Linked DNA regions of Homo sapiens: region 1 is linked to region 2. The links are contacts of gene promoters, found by promoter capture Hi-C in human tissues and cell types (Jung and others, 2019). All regions are on one chromosome and are shown on one strand. The core of a region is centred on a gene start or on the middle of the fragment in contact, and the rest is flanking DNA. Distances in the headings are between cores, read along the strand shown.

Region 1 (7,170 bases), core at 1,511-4,010, 73 kb before region 2:
GACTCTCCAGAAGAGAAATTGACTGAAGGGCCAGGCAGAGGATAAGAATCTACGTTAAGCCAGTGGTACAGCCCAGAAATACTAGAGTAAAAGGTTTGAAGGAAAAAGGTAAGGGTTAAAATCTAGAAGAAATGCTCTGGGATAAATAGGATATCTGCAACAGCATTTCTTAAATAGTGAGCAGAGACAAGGTGGAGTGTGAAAAGCACAACTCTCCCGGTACAGTTTAGTAAGTATTGAATGTTTCGTAGGATCCAGCATTGGAGATCAAGCAGGTCAGTAAAGAACAAACCACTGTGCCGCAGCCACCAGAAGCCTGGAACTTTGCCATGTGCTTCAGCCTACAGGGGTCTGCTAAGAAGAGAAGCAAAGCCCTCTAAGAACAGCACAGAGAGAAATAAAGTCAGCGAGAGATGGGACTATTAAGGGAAAGGCTTATAAAGTGCTGTGAGCTTCGTTGGCAAAGAAAGGGCTGTTCATCTAGTCTCGAATGTAGCCAAGCAGAGAGGGAGCTGGGAAGAAGGAGATATGAAGATAGCCTTAGCTAATGTGTGTCACTCTGCCTTTGAATGACCATTCAAAACATCAGCCTGTTGGTGTTCTTCAAACTGGTGAGGCTGTTGGGGGCTCAAGGAAAATGGGTCATTGTTTAAGACAAAAAGAAAGGAAGGGACGGAGAGAAGGAGAGAAGAAAGGGAGGGAAGGAGGGAACAAAGGAATTTCTTTGAGTTAAATCTCACTGCGTTGATATGCCCCCTCCCCCTTTTTGCTTGTTCTGAAGACCAAAAGCTCTGTTTTCTTCTGCTGAGGGTCCTCCCTTTGGGGTTTTGGTAATATCTGTGATCTATAATTGTTACTCTTAATACTAAATATTTTCACAAGTCATTTAATTATCTATAGATTTGACTAAACTGACCTAGATTTAGATTTAGGTTAAGCCTTCCATGCCTAATGCCACATACCTGTGCCCCACAAACCTGAGCTCTTTGAGTGCTGCAGGACTATAACTTGATTTGAAAAGCTGGATGTTCTTTTTCATCAGAAATCAGTGTTCTACTAAGCCTGTCAATTCATTGTCTCCTAGACAATTTTGAATTGGGATAACAAATTAGAGTTAGGGATACATTACAAATGATAAATGTGACTTCCTTAAAGGGAAATCCATTTGTTTTGCTTAGTGTTTCTGTGATTAATTACTTGCCAGATTAAATTGCTCCATAAAAATGCATAGTATTTTATTCGATTGCTCTTCATGGTGATTAATCAGGCCATACTGTTGCTTCGTATGTTAATTATGCTGACATTTTATTCTGTTCTCTAGTTTAATTAATACAGCATGTATTTGAAAGACTGTTTTTAGGATGGGATACTATCTGTTTTAGGGGTAAGAAAGTCCAAACTTGCTTACAGGCTGATGTTAGGGAATTAACACTTCCAGTTTTCTAAGTGGCCACATTTTTTGCCATGATAGGCAAAAAGTAGACTAACTATGAATGAGTTGGGGAAAGCTCTGTTTGGTTTTCCTATAGTTATTAAAGATAATATACTGGATGGCCAGGCGCAGTGGCTTACGCCTGTAATCCCAGCACTTTGGGAGGCCGAGGGCAGCGGATCACTTGAGGTCAGGAGTTCGAGACCAGCCTGGCCAACATGGTGAAACCCCGTCTCTACTAAAAATACAAAAATCAGCTGGGTGTGGTGGTGCACACCTGTAGTCCCAGCTACTTGGGAGACTGAAGCAGGAGAATCGCCTGAAGCCGGGAGGTGCAGGTTGCAGTCAGCCGAGCCAAGATTGCACCACTGCACTCCAGCCTGGGCCACAGAGCAAGACTCTGTCTAAAAAAACAAACAAACAAACAAACAAAAAACCCCATGATATACTGGAGATTCTTGGCTCAATTGAAAATTGATTATTAAGAACACAGAGAAGAAGCTGTTGATGCAAAATGAACTGCAAAACGACTGTAAACCTAAATGCCAGTGTGGGGGCTGGGGTGGTTGGGAAAGATTGTTATTTCCTGGGATGCTGCAGGGTGCTGATGAGGAACAGGCATATTTAGCATTTGTATTAATGAACTAGGGCTGAAAGTAAACAAAGTATTAATGAAGTTTGTAAGTCATACTGATTTGGAGGTGTTTCCTATACCCGGGAGGGCAGAGAAATGATATTGATGGACCAGAAAGAGAAGCATCACAGAAAATAACCCAGCTATTCCCTTGGGAAATTGCATATCTGCTAAATAGAAATAGCATAAATAGAGTCAGGCAGATATTTTCCAAAGTAGACCTTCCAGCAGTCCACTCCTAAATGTTTACCCAAGTGAAATAAAAACTTGGATTGGACAAATGTTTATAGTGGCTTTATTTATACACTGTCAAAACTGTGGACAACCCAAGTGTCTCTCAACGGCGGAACAGATAAACTATGGTACATCTATATAATGAAATACTATTCTACAGTAAAAAGGAATGAACTACTGATACATGCAACAACCTGGATTAATTCAGTTGCATTATGCAGTATGAAACTATCCAGATCCAAAAGGTTACATGCTGTATGATTCCATTTATATGACATTCTGGAAATGGCAAAACTATAGGGACAGGGTATAGGTCAGTTGTTTTCAGAGGCTGGGGTTGGAAGGAGAGGTTGATTACAAATGGGCACAGGGGAACTTTTGAGGTGATGAAACTGTTCTGTATCTTGACTGTGGTGGTGATTATCTGGATGTATGCATTTTTCAAAACTTGCAGAACTGTATACTTGTATCAGGGTTTTTCAGAAAACAGACCAATAAAATATACATAGTTATACAAGAGGAAATAGGCTATGGGAATTAGTTCACATGATTATGGAGGCCAAGTTGTTTCACAATATGCTGTCTGCAAGCTGTAGAATCAGGGAGCTGATGCTGTAGGCTTCCAATTAAAGGTTGAAGGACTGAGAACTTGGGTGGTACTAGTGTAAGTCCTAGAGTCCAAAAACTGGAGAACCAGGAGCTCCTGATGTCTGATGTCTAAGGGCAAGAGAAGATGGACGTCCCAGCTCAAGAAAAGAGAAACAGAGAATTTGCCCTTCCTCTGCCTTTTGTTCTATTCAGGTGGGCTTTCAACAGACTAGATGATGGCTGCTTATATTGGTGAGGGTGGATCTTCTTTACCCAGTGTATGGATTCAAATGCTAATCTGTCTCCTGGAAATACCCCTGTCAACACACTCAGAAATAATGATTTACCATTAAGGGATCCCTTAATCCAGTCAAGTTGATAATAAAATTAACCATTACAACACTAAAAAGGGTAAGTTTTGCTGTATGAAAGTTATTCCTTAATTTTAAAAATCAGAAAAAGAATAGTTCTTCACAGGGAAGGGTAAGAGATTCAACTTCTGACCATAGTTTCCATACTTTATGTGTGGCAACCTTTTGAAAATAATTTGAATGACAGGAGTTATAATTGGAGGATTTGTATTTTCTTCATATTTCTTACAAATTCCCAGGTTTGTTTTGTTTGTTTGTTTTTGAGTGGGAGCTGGGATGGGGGTGGGGGGTAGGTTGCTGATGGTTTTCCTTAGGTGTTTGCATTATATAAATCTATATACTGATGAGAGGGTTATTTTGAGAAGGAAAGCACAATTAAGATCTTGGACCTCATTGATAGCCATCAGACATAGATCATTTCCCCACTTTATGGATTGAATCTAATTATTTGAGTTCTCTGGATTGAGCTTTCATTTTAAAGCTTTGTTATTTCTTCTGTCTGGGCCCTACTACTGTTGAACTGTGTATTATAAGACTTGGAATAGGCCAGGCGTGCTGGCTCACACTGTAATCCCAGCACTTTGGGAGGCCGGGGCGGGCGGATCACGAGGTCAGGAGATCGAGACCATCCTCGCTAACACGGTGAAACCCCGTCTCTACTAAAAATACAAAAAAATTAGCCAGGCGCCGTGGTGGGCGCCTGTAGTTCCAGCTACTCCGGAGGCTGAGGCAGGAGAATGGCATGAACCCGGGAGGTGGAGCTTGCAGTGAGCCGAGGTAGTGCCACTGCAGTCCAACCTGGGTGAGAGAGCGAGACTCCGTCTCAAAAAAAAAAAAAAAAAAAAAGGACTTGCAATAGTGCCAAGGGATATTGCTGTCCCAGAACTAACTTCAGAGACAACTTCCACTCCCCTCTGTACTTAGACTGGGGCAGAAAGCTTCATCACACTGTGGGTTTGTAAGGCAGATTTGCACAATATCAGGGACCCAGGGATAGGTGAACCATGAATGCTAAACTATTGCAGACAGCTACTGTGCCTCCTTCCTCCCTTTCTGCCACGTCTCCAGTGATCTGAACTGTGTGTATACAGTGTTTGCTTCTCATGGTCAACTTGAAATGCCTTCCCAAATGCCAAACTATCTCTATTCAGTTGCTCAGGAAGGGGGCATACATGGTGATAGTAGTATTGCATTACTTGCAGCAATAATACTGAATATTGCTCTGTGGCTGCAACTTAGTGTGCTCACTGCTGACTACTCTGAGCAGATGTGTAGCCATCATTTTGTCTCAGACCAGGTAGGTTACATTTAGCAAGATGCTGATTCCCTAAGTGACTTGCTGAACAAATGTCCCTGGGTCTTTCAGCTGAATGATTTTCAGCACTGGACCTGAAGAGGCTGCTGGGGCCCTCAACCAAGACCCCATCTGTTAAAGCCTCTTATTGATTTGTATCCCTTTTTATAAAAATCTGTCCCTTCTCCTCCTCCTAGTGTGATAAATAATGCAGATATACTAGATGAAGTCTACTATTGGAGCAGGACTTGAATCATTTTGGTTAGAGTTGAACTAAACTAAACAGAAATGAGACTCTCAAATAGCCATCTATGTCAAATGGTTTCTTATTTTCTTATCCTTATTTATCATGGTTACGAATACTTGCAGAGTGTAGAAAGTAACAAAAAGCTGTAATTAACCTTGTAAAAATAAGTTTTAATAGGGAAATAAATTATAAGAATTATAAGATGGCATTATAAGTTTGCTTTTTTTTTTTTTTTTTTTTTGAGATGGATTTTCACTGTCACCTAGGCTGGAGTGTAATAGCTGTGATCTTGGCTCACTGCAACCTCCACCTCGCAGGTTCAAGCGATTCTCCTGCCTCAGCCTCCCAAGTAGCTGGGATTACAGGAGCCTGCCACCATGCCCAGCTCATTTTTGTATTTTTAGTAGAGACGGGGTTTCACCATGTTGGCCAGGCTGGTCTCGAACTCCTGATCTAAGGTGATCCACCTGCCTCGGCCTCCCAAAGTGCTGGGATTATAGGCATAAGCCACCGCACCCAGCCCATTTTAAGTTTTTGACTGAGTAAACAGGTGATAATAAAATGCTGTGAGATAACGGTTTATGTTAGCAGGGTATCGTATCTTTTTTTTTTTTTTTTGAGACAGAGTCTCGCTCTGTGGCCCAGGCTGGAGCACAGTGGTGTGATCTTGGCTCACTGCAACCTCTGCCTCCTGAGTTCAAACAATTCTCCTGCCTCAGCCTCCCGAGTAGCTGGGATTACAGGTACCCGCCACCATGCCCGGCTAACTTTTTGTATTTTTAGTAGAGACGGAGTTTCACTATGTTGGCCAGGCTGGTCTTGAACTCCTGACCTCATGATCCTCCTGCCTTGGCCTCCCAAAGTGCTGGGATTACAGGTGTGAGCCACCACGCCCAGCTCGGGTATCATATCTTAATCCTGTGTTTTTATGCCCCTTCAGCCCAATTTACTGACTATTCATAATAGATACACAGCACTTCATCCAGCCGGGAAATGAAGGTTCATCTTGGCCAACACTTAATTAGTCATTAATTATTTATTGTTCATTTCCTGTGTACCCAACCCTGTGTCCTTAGTTTCTGACCTACATTGGTAGTACTACCACATGGCAAGATTTCATAGGGTAGAATGCCATTGCAATTAAGACTTTGGAGGAACAGCTGAAGGCCAGGGTACAATCCTGCTGTACCCGAGTTAGAATGTGACCAGAATAGCTATACTTCCATTATAGCTCTTTTGAAAAGCTCCAGGAGATGACAGACCACTGCTTACCACCCATTATTTGCACCTGGGAAGTTTCTGAAGTGTTCCCTCCCTTTTGTGCAGTCATGGCAGCTCCGGGAAGGAGGGGACCACTTTACGCACCAAACCAAACAGGTCTGCTGAGGACATTTGCTCACTAAAGTCTGGGAGCCTTTGGCTCTGGTCAAGACTGATGTGGGCCTGGTGCAGTGGCTTACGCCTATAATCCCAGCACTTTGGGAGGCCGAGGCAGGAAGATCACTTGAGCCCAGGAGTTTGAGATCAGCCCTGGCAACATACAAGACCCCATCTCTACAAAAACATTTAAAAAAGTAGCTGGGTATGTGACGTGCACCTGTAGTCCCAGTTACTTGGGATGCTGAGATGGGAAGATCATTTGAGCCTGGGAGGTTGAGGCTGCAGCGAGCTGTGGTGGCACCACTGCATTCCAGCCTGGGCAATAGAGAGAGACCCTGTCTCAAAAAAAAAAAAAAAAAAAAAAGAGAGAGAGAGAGAGAGAGAGAATGTACTTCCTTCTGTCTGTCCTTTTAACCAAGAGCTTTCTCCTAGACCAAGAATTCCTGGCCAGGTGTGGTGGCTCACACCTGTAATCCCAGCAGCTTAGGAGGCTGAGGCATGAGGATCACTTGAGCCCAGGAGTTCAAGACCAGCCTGGGCCACATAGTGAGACCCCCATCTCTACTGAAAAGAAAAGCTTAGCTAGGAGTACTGGTGCATGCTTGTAATCCCAGCTACTCAGGAGGCTGAGGCAGGAAGATCCCTTGAGCCCAGGAGTTCAAGGCTGCAGTGAGCTATGATTGTGCCACTGCGCTCCTGCCTGAGTGACAGAGCTAGAACCTGCCTCTAAAAGAATTTAAATATTTCCTTTTTTTCCCTGTCTTTGGTATCCTTTTATAGATAATATGTACATATGGAAGTGTGTTTTGACTTCAGGGTTTTGTTTATCCATCATCTGAGAAATGCAAAATCCATTTCTGATAAAAATTCTCAGCATACTAGGAATAGAAGAGAGCTTCCTCTGTATGATAAAGGGCATCTGTGCAAAACCTACAAGCTGTCATATTTAATGCTGAAAGACTGCGTGCTTTTCCCTAAGATTAGGAACAA
Region 2 (7,064 bases), core at 1,609-4,108:
AGAATTGACTTCTCTGGGAAAACTGGAGATGAGAATCTGCCCAGTGCTCTGCTGTCCAGTCACCGCCTTTTGAATTTTAGTTTTGGCACCAGGAGTACCGTTAGCTTTCCCCTTCTTCTGGCCCATTTGACTCATCAGCACAATAGGGTCACCACCTTAACTTTTAATTTCTAATCTGCTTTACTGTCTTTAGGGTGTGTATGAAATAAACATTGACAGGCTTTCTGGAGCCCTCAAGGTGCCTACTTTGCTGGTTCCCTTTCCAGCAGCTCCCCCACCTCCCTTAGCCCCCCCTCCTCTGGCAGCCTCTCCTGCCTCTGCTGAGCTCCCCTCCACGTGTTCCACCCCCTTACCCTGCTGTTGTTTACATCCAACCTGCCTGAGAATTTCCTCTGGGGAGGAATCTATTCCTGTCATGGTCTAGTGCCTGGGAGGGAGAGAACTTTCTGGGGGTAGGGTGCCCTCCATCTGAAACAGGCCAGGTGAGCATCATGCATAAGGCCTCCATTCTGTCCGCTCAGATTCTGGGTGGGGCCACAGGCAAATCTCCTGACTTATGGGGAGTTGGCTTGTGGTTCCTCCCTTGGATAGCCTCCATGGAACCACTATAGGCTTTCCCAACAGCTGCCTCTGAAATAGCTGCTGCTTCGAGATCCTCCCTTTTTAAAGCACTTTCTAAAGCCCTCAGGATGGCGGGAGCAAACAGCACTGGTATATTCTAGGAGTAAGTGCAGGAATTCAGCAGTGAGAGCATGTCTGGGACCACCTGGACTGCCATCCATTTAACCTCAAATCTCTTTGGGATACTCGCCCTCCCTGGGAACCAGAGTTCTGGCTCTAACATTGAGCAGCTATGCACTAGTTCCAGAGAAGCCACTAACAGGCTGCCATGTGTAGATGTAGGTTCTTAAGAGATCACAGGCTGGGTCATCTGATCACTGGATGGATAGCTCAGCCTGGGGCATTTAGTGTTTTCCCTGGTGATAAATCCCCAAGGCAGCTGGATTTGGAGCTGGTGGCAAGTTGAAATTATTAAAAATTGATTTGTGTGGGACTGTCTTTAGTGTTGCTTTTTTTTTCCTTAATCTCTGTTGCCCAGACTCATTCCTCAAAGATAGAGGTAAGGTAATCTCCTAGGTGCTGCTGCCATCTGGCTAGGGGACCCCTACCTGCCCTTGTGAACTCTCCTCCTTCCTCTGAGTCTCCTGGCCCTAGTAGAGGTCAGTTGGGTTCGGAGAGCTGTAACCTCTCTTGTCCTCTGGGTAGAAGGAGGGAGAAGAGAGTTAGTTCCCTTATCTCCAAACTTAGTGGTATTGAGGAGGCAAGCCAACCCATTTGGCCACTTACGGATTCCTGCCAGCCTTTCCTCCAAGTGAATGAGGACAGGTCTAGGGCATGGGGCACTAAGCAGAGGGCTCCTTGCCCTCCATTGTAAAGGCCCTTCTCTTGACCAGTTTATTCACATATACCTATCCCAGAACTCCAAACGAGAGTGCCCATTCTCTCCTGGAAATCAACCTTAACAGGAGCTGCCCAAGCACTTTCTATGCCCAGCCTCTATACCAGGTCTGTGGAGCCTCCTCCAGAGCCAAGGGAGATCCAAGCGCAGGGCATTGCTCCTAAAGACAATCTTACCCTCAGCCACTTGTCCCCCTCTTAGGCCTGAACTCCCGCCACAATTCCTGCTGGGTTGATTAAATCAAGTGGTTGGAAATTAAAGCCAATTGAAGAGATTAAGTGTGCTTGAGTCACTTTAAAGTTTTTGGTCTTAACAGGTCACTCCTTTGGACCCACCAGACAAGGTCCCCTCATCCTCATAGCAACGGGTTGGGGGGCTTTTGGGTGTGGAGCCCAGGAAGCATCCTGAGGAAGGTCAGACCTGTGACGCTCAAAACACTCAGGATCCATTCCTGGGAGATGAGGCAGCCCAGCTTCCGTGCTAGCCCTGCCTTTGGAAAGGAGCTAATCTTAAGGAAGGGGTTTCATAACAAGGGCATTTCTTTCCTACTCTGTATCCTGACTTGGATCCCCAAACCTGTCAGTTGCTCCCCATATCTGCTGGAAAACAAGGAATCTAGGACAGGACAGGTGACAAAAGAGAAGGGCAGAAAAGTTGCTGCAGGGGAGGAACAAAAGAGCAAGGATGTCTTGAGAAACTGACCTGGTTCACTAGTTTTTTTATCTTCCTAGTCGGCCTATGGGGTTCATTAGATCAGTGAAGGAGGCACCCTGAGAGTGAATAGGTTCCAGAGACGGGGTCCTGGAGTGGGTGAGAGTTGGGGTCCTTCTGGAACTTGAGAGAAGATGAAACAGTAGTCCATTGGCCCACGATGAGCCTGCTAATATTAGAGGCTGGGTTGACTCTTCCTTTGCATCCCTAACCTGCTTTAAGCACGGTGGGGACTGTCTGGGACCACGAGAGACGCATACACGGGAGGAGGAACAACAGAGAAAATACAGGCTGACATGGAGACAAACGGAGCGGGGACTCAGATATGATACCCCAGGCTCTGCCTCAGCCAGAACTGTGTTGACGAAGGGGGACGGGGTGCCTGAGAATTGGGGGCGGGGTTTCCTCCTCTCAGTGGGGCTCTTCTGTCCCGCGCTCTCCTCCTCCCCCACCCCCCCCCCCCGCCAAGCCCCGTGACTTCTGCTTTAGGGGCAGATTGCTGGGGAGCTAGTCTCCTTCCCCGCACTTTGCAGTTCACCCTTTCACCGGGTGCCTCCCCCGGGCTGCAAAGGGTGGGGGGCGGGGGTAGGGGGAGCCAATCCCGGCAGCGCCAAAGAGGGGAGGAGGCGGTGACAGCCGCGGGGAGGGGGCGGGAGGAGAGAGGCAGCTCGGCTCGGCTCCGCGCTCAGCTCCGCTCTGCCTCCGGCTCTGCGCTCACCTGCTGCCTAGTGTTCCCTCTCCTGCTCCAGGACCTCCGGGTAGACCTCAGACCCCGGGCCCATTCCCAGACTCAGCCTCAGCCCGGACTTCCCCAGCCCCGACAGCACAGTAGGCCGCCAGGGGGCGCCGTGTGAGCGCCCTATCCCGGCCACCCGGCGCCCCCTCCCACGGCCCGGGCGGGAGCGGGGCGCCGGGGGCCATGCGGGGCCAGGGCCGCAAGGAGAGTTTGTCCGATTCCCGAGACCTGGACGGCTCCTACGACCAGCTCACGGGTGAGTCAGTGACGTGGGGGTCGCGGGAGGGAGGGTGGATTCCATTCCTCCAGACCCTTCCGCCTCTCCGACCCCGGCCTGGCCCGCACCCACACTCTGCCCCATTCCCAGGCACTCTTATGGCCGGTCTGGGCGGCAGGACACTGGGGGTTCAAAGCCTTGGGTCCCGCAGGGGTTGGGGAGGAACAGAAGAGGCAGGTGTGGAGAGGCAGCAGGTGTGGGCGTATGTGACACAGGGCTGAGAGGGTGTCTGGAGTGGGAGGTGTTACGTGCGTGAGCACCTGTCATTCTGTGTGTGTGTGTGTGTGTGCGCGCGCACCTCCCACAGCTGGTTGCCATGTGCCCTGGGCTTGGTGACAGCTAGGGTGAGTGTGATTGTATGTGGCAGTGCAATTGTATGGTCTCGTCAGATGTTTGAGTTTGCGTAGGACCCTGGTTGTACTGATGAAGTTGTTTTGACCATGTGTCTCTATGTGCAACGATGTGTTGTGAGTGTGTAATTCTGTATGAAGTGGTGTGTAACTACCAGAATGTGTCAGGGCTCTACTTTAGGGTGGCTTGTCTCTTTGTAAGCCTTCATGACCATAAGCCCTCTGGGCAAGAATTTGTTAAAGTAGGTTGTGTTGTGTTTTGTGGTTGTGAGATTAGTGTTCAGTGCTAGTTGTGTACTTTCATGTGGTGATGTCTGCAGCGGGGCTCTGTGAGTGTCTATGACGTGTCTCATCCCTGCTGCCTCTCTGGCTTCCTGGTACAGATAGGGGTCTTTAGTACACCCCACTCCTTCACCAATTTTTCCACAAATAGCCCAGGTGGACCCAAGGAGGGACTTTAGTGTTCAGCTGCCCAGTCTGGTTTCCAAGAGACCTTATGGCTCCAGCACCTGGCCCCTGTAGGGAGGCTTTAGTTAGTGCTGGGTCAGCCCTCTCTCCCCACACCAAATCATGTACTGAGATTATTCTTACAACTGAATCCTTCAACCCCCAACAAACCTTTCAGAACTTCACTCAAACCCCAGGAAAACACATCCTCTTCCTTCCCCTCCAGAGACAGAGCTAGAAGCTCTAGGCCTGGGAAGTGCCATGTGGTGTCCTGCATGTCCACCAAACCACTTGGCTGCCCGGGCATCCTCTCTTTCCCACATGGGGAGGTATGTGAGGCCAGTACATCTGTGCATGTGCATGTTCCTGGGTTTGGTAGGAAGAGCCATGTGTTTGTGTAGGTGACTGTGTCACCCTGGGTACATTTCCATGTATGTGTTTGTGTCTCTCATTGTGCAGCCTGCTCTAGAAAGCCAGCAGAGTGGGAGGAGGGAGGCTGTCTCCCTGAGGCCAAAACAAAGCTGGGGAGGTGGAGGGAGGCCATGATCCTTGTCCTTCCTGAGGGGAGTGAGATTGAGACCTGGGAAGGGGGAGGGGACTAGGATGAGGTGCCTTGAGCATGTGTCTTCCCCCATCCCCCATCACTGTCCCTAGGGAGGCCCTAGTCAGGATCAGGGGAGCCACTCAGGCTGGCCCCAGATGAGAGACCATGCCAGATGTGCCTCAGAGCTGGATGGAATCCAAAGGACCCACTGTCCAGCTCTTCCATGAATTCTGTTCCCATCACCAGCTTAGGATTCTTGAGAGTAGTAAGGGCCTAGGGGCCTTCAATAGTATCACATTAGTCAGTGTTTGCTTCCAGCTTTAATGGGTTCTCACCCTTAGTGAAACCATCCCTTCCCCACTTGGCTATTTGAATGAGATTGGGTGGGGGAAGCATTTGTATTTGGAGATGCCCTGCCCCAGTTCAGTCAGGAATGGAAGTGTACCAGCTATGTGACTTTTGTTCTCTTGGCCTCACCTTTCTCATCTGTAAAAGGGAATGTTACTTCCTGCCTGCCTGCCTACCTCCCAAGGAAAATGGAAAGGTCAAATGTTGACAAGTATCAAGAATTGTGGTCCGGGTCTACAGCAGCCTAGCTGTAGATAGCTCCACACACGACTTGGAAAGTAGAAATAGGACTACCAGGAGCTCTCCTCTCGAAGGGCGGCTTATTTTATAGCGGGAGACAAATCGGGTTGGGACGCCAGTGTCAACGAAGACTCCCGGGCGGGCGGGCGGCGCTGAGCTCTGAGCGCTGAGAGATGCCTAAGCTGAAGCATGAAGGGGAGTCGTTGTCCGCGGTGCTGAAGCGCGCGCCAGGCTTCGCCTCCCCTTCCCTGCAGTTGGGATTCCTGGGATCGGATTTAGGGTAGTCTGCAGCTCCCGTCTTCCCGGCCCATCAGGCTTGCAGGGAAGCAGCTGGAAAGTTACACCTCAGGGCATCCTGGGTACCTCCGAACATTTTACTTCCCCACTCCCACCCCAAGCTCAAAAGGGAGCTGGGAGAGACTCTTTAGGAAAACAAAACAAAACAAAAAACAGTCCGAGCCCCGCCCGGACCCCTGTCTAATCCCTCAGGTCTTCCCAGCCCGGCGGGGCCGCTGGGCAGTGCGGTTCCGAGGGGAAAGGCCGCGTTTAGCAGCGGCCCTGTCTGAGCGGAAGAGAGAAAGGCCAAGAGAAGATGCGGAGAGGGTTGGAGCCTGGCTGGCTAGCCCTGAGCTCGGTCCCCCGACTGGGATCTCAGTGGAGTCCCTCCGGCCCTGAGTATTGTTGCCGGGGCGGGGGCGCCCCCGTGTGGCTGCGAGGAGCCATGCGCACGGAGCTGCTTTGCGGTGGGGATAGTCGCCGTCAAGTGGACAAGATTTGCCCAGAGTTAGGAGGTCATTCTCACCACTTAAATGTAGGGTTTTCAACCAATCATGCGGGATCCCAGTCGAAAGAGCGGGACTATATCTCTCCCGTAGGCTTTCCCAGGAATTTTAAGGCGTTAGAGAGTCCTGGAAGTGTTTACTTGGGGTCTAACCTGATAGAGATGAGTCCGGAGTCCAGGAAAGGGGCGCAGCGGGACCGAAGTGGGGGGGGGGTGCGGGGGGGGCTCTTCTCGAAGCATTCGGCTGTAGCCAGCGTATGGTGGTAGTCTGTGAACCTGCCGCACCGAGACAAACACAAATAGAAACAGTTATGAGAGCAAGGAATTTGGAGCCAGGAGACAGAAGGCAGTGGGGCACAACTCTGCTGCCTCTTCTTTGCCACCCCAATACACTGGCCTCTTTCTCCTTCCTCCTGGCTTTCTTCCATTGGCCCAGGAAGTGTGGGGAGTTGCCATGACAACTCTGTCCTCTTACCCCTTCGGCTCTTTATGCCAAAATGGTGGGGGCGGGGTGCAGGGTGCGGGGAGGAGTGCGACAGGCGGAGAAAGGGGGGCTGAAAGGGGGCAATAAAAGATACGGTTCATTCCCCATCCAGCTCTTTTCTCAAAACCCACATGTGCCTGCCTGGCCTCCCCGCCAGAACCCAGAAAAATGCTCCCTGAGAAGGCTGAGTCCGCGCCGCCCCTCCCCGCCACCCCCCCCCCCCGTCCAGGAACTTTGGGGGCGGCTGCTTCACATGATGGGGCCAGGGTGAGCTCCTCTCGTGCGGCCAGGAGAACATGGGAAGGCTCCAGGGTTTCGATCCTATGCCTGCCGGGCCGGCCCTCCCGCGCCGCCCACGCGGGCCTACCCGGGTGAGGGCGGAGACCGGACCGCCCCGGGGCCTGGGGGTGGAGCTTAGACGCCGAGCTCGCCGCCAAACCATGAACCGATGCCCCCGCAGGTGCCGGAGCCCGCTGGGGCAGGCAGCGCGATCCCTCTACCAGCTGGTGACTGGGTCGCTGTCCCCAGGTATGATGAGGAAGGGAAGGGAGGGGCAGGATCCTTCAAAAAGTGAGCGAAGTGGGTTAGGAGCTCCGCAGAGGTAGGGAGGGAAGGGCCCCTCAAATAGATGGAGGGAGCAACATCCCTCCAAGGAAAGGGCTTCCAAGACGAGATCCTGGACAGAAG

Evidence for each region. The method cuts DNA at HindIII sites, captures the fragments that hold promoters and counts their contacts. A contact is called where the count stands out against the background at its distance.
Region 1: a contact is called between a fragment that was not itself captured here and the fragment with the promoter of KCNIP2 in region 2, in 2 of the 25 tissues and cell types used here (spleen and thymus).

What each region holds. Positions count from the first base shown.
Region 1 is chr10:101,912,736-101,919,905 of GRCh38, reverse strand. All of the region lies in intron 23 of ARMH3 (armadillo like helical domain containing 3), which reads left to right. Among named protein-coding and RNA genes, the nearest start is that of KCNIP2, 73 kb to the right of the region's middle. The HindIII fragment of the contact is 5,435 bases long and covers 43-5,477 here.
Region 2 is chr10:101,839,594-101,846,657 of GRCh38, reverse strand. It overlaps KCNIP2 (potassium voltage-gated channel interacting protein 2), which reads left to right and starts at 2,858. Exons shown (of 10, transcript NM_173191.3): 1 at 2,858-3,162. The coding sequence starts at 3,090. ARMH3 (armadillo like helical domain containing 3) reads left to right here. Exons shown (of 26, transcript NM_024541.3): 26 at 1-1,059. RefSeq lists silencers at 2,636-2,885, 6,632-6,821 and an enhancer at 2,841-3,346. The HindIII fragment of the contact is 20,872 bases long and covers 1-7,064 here.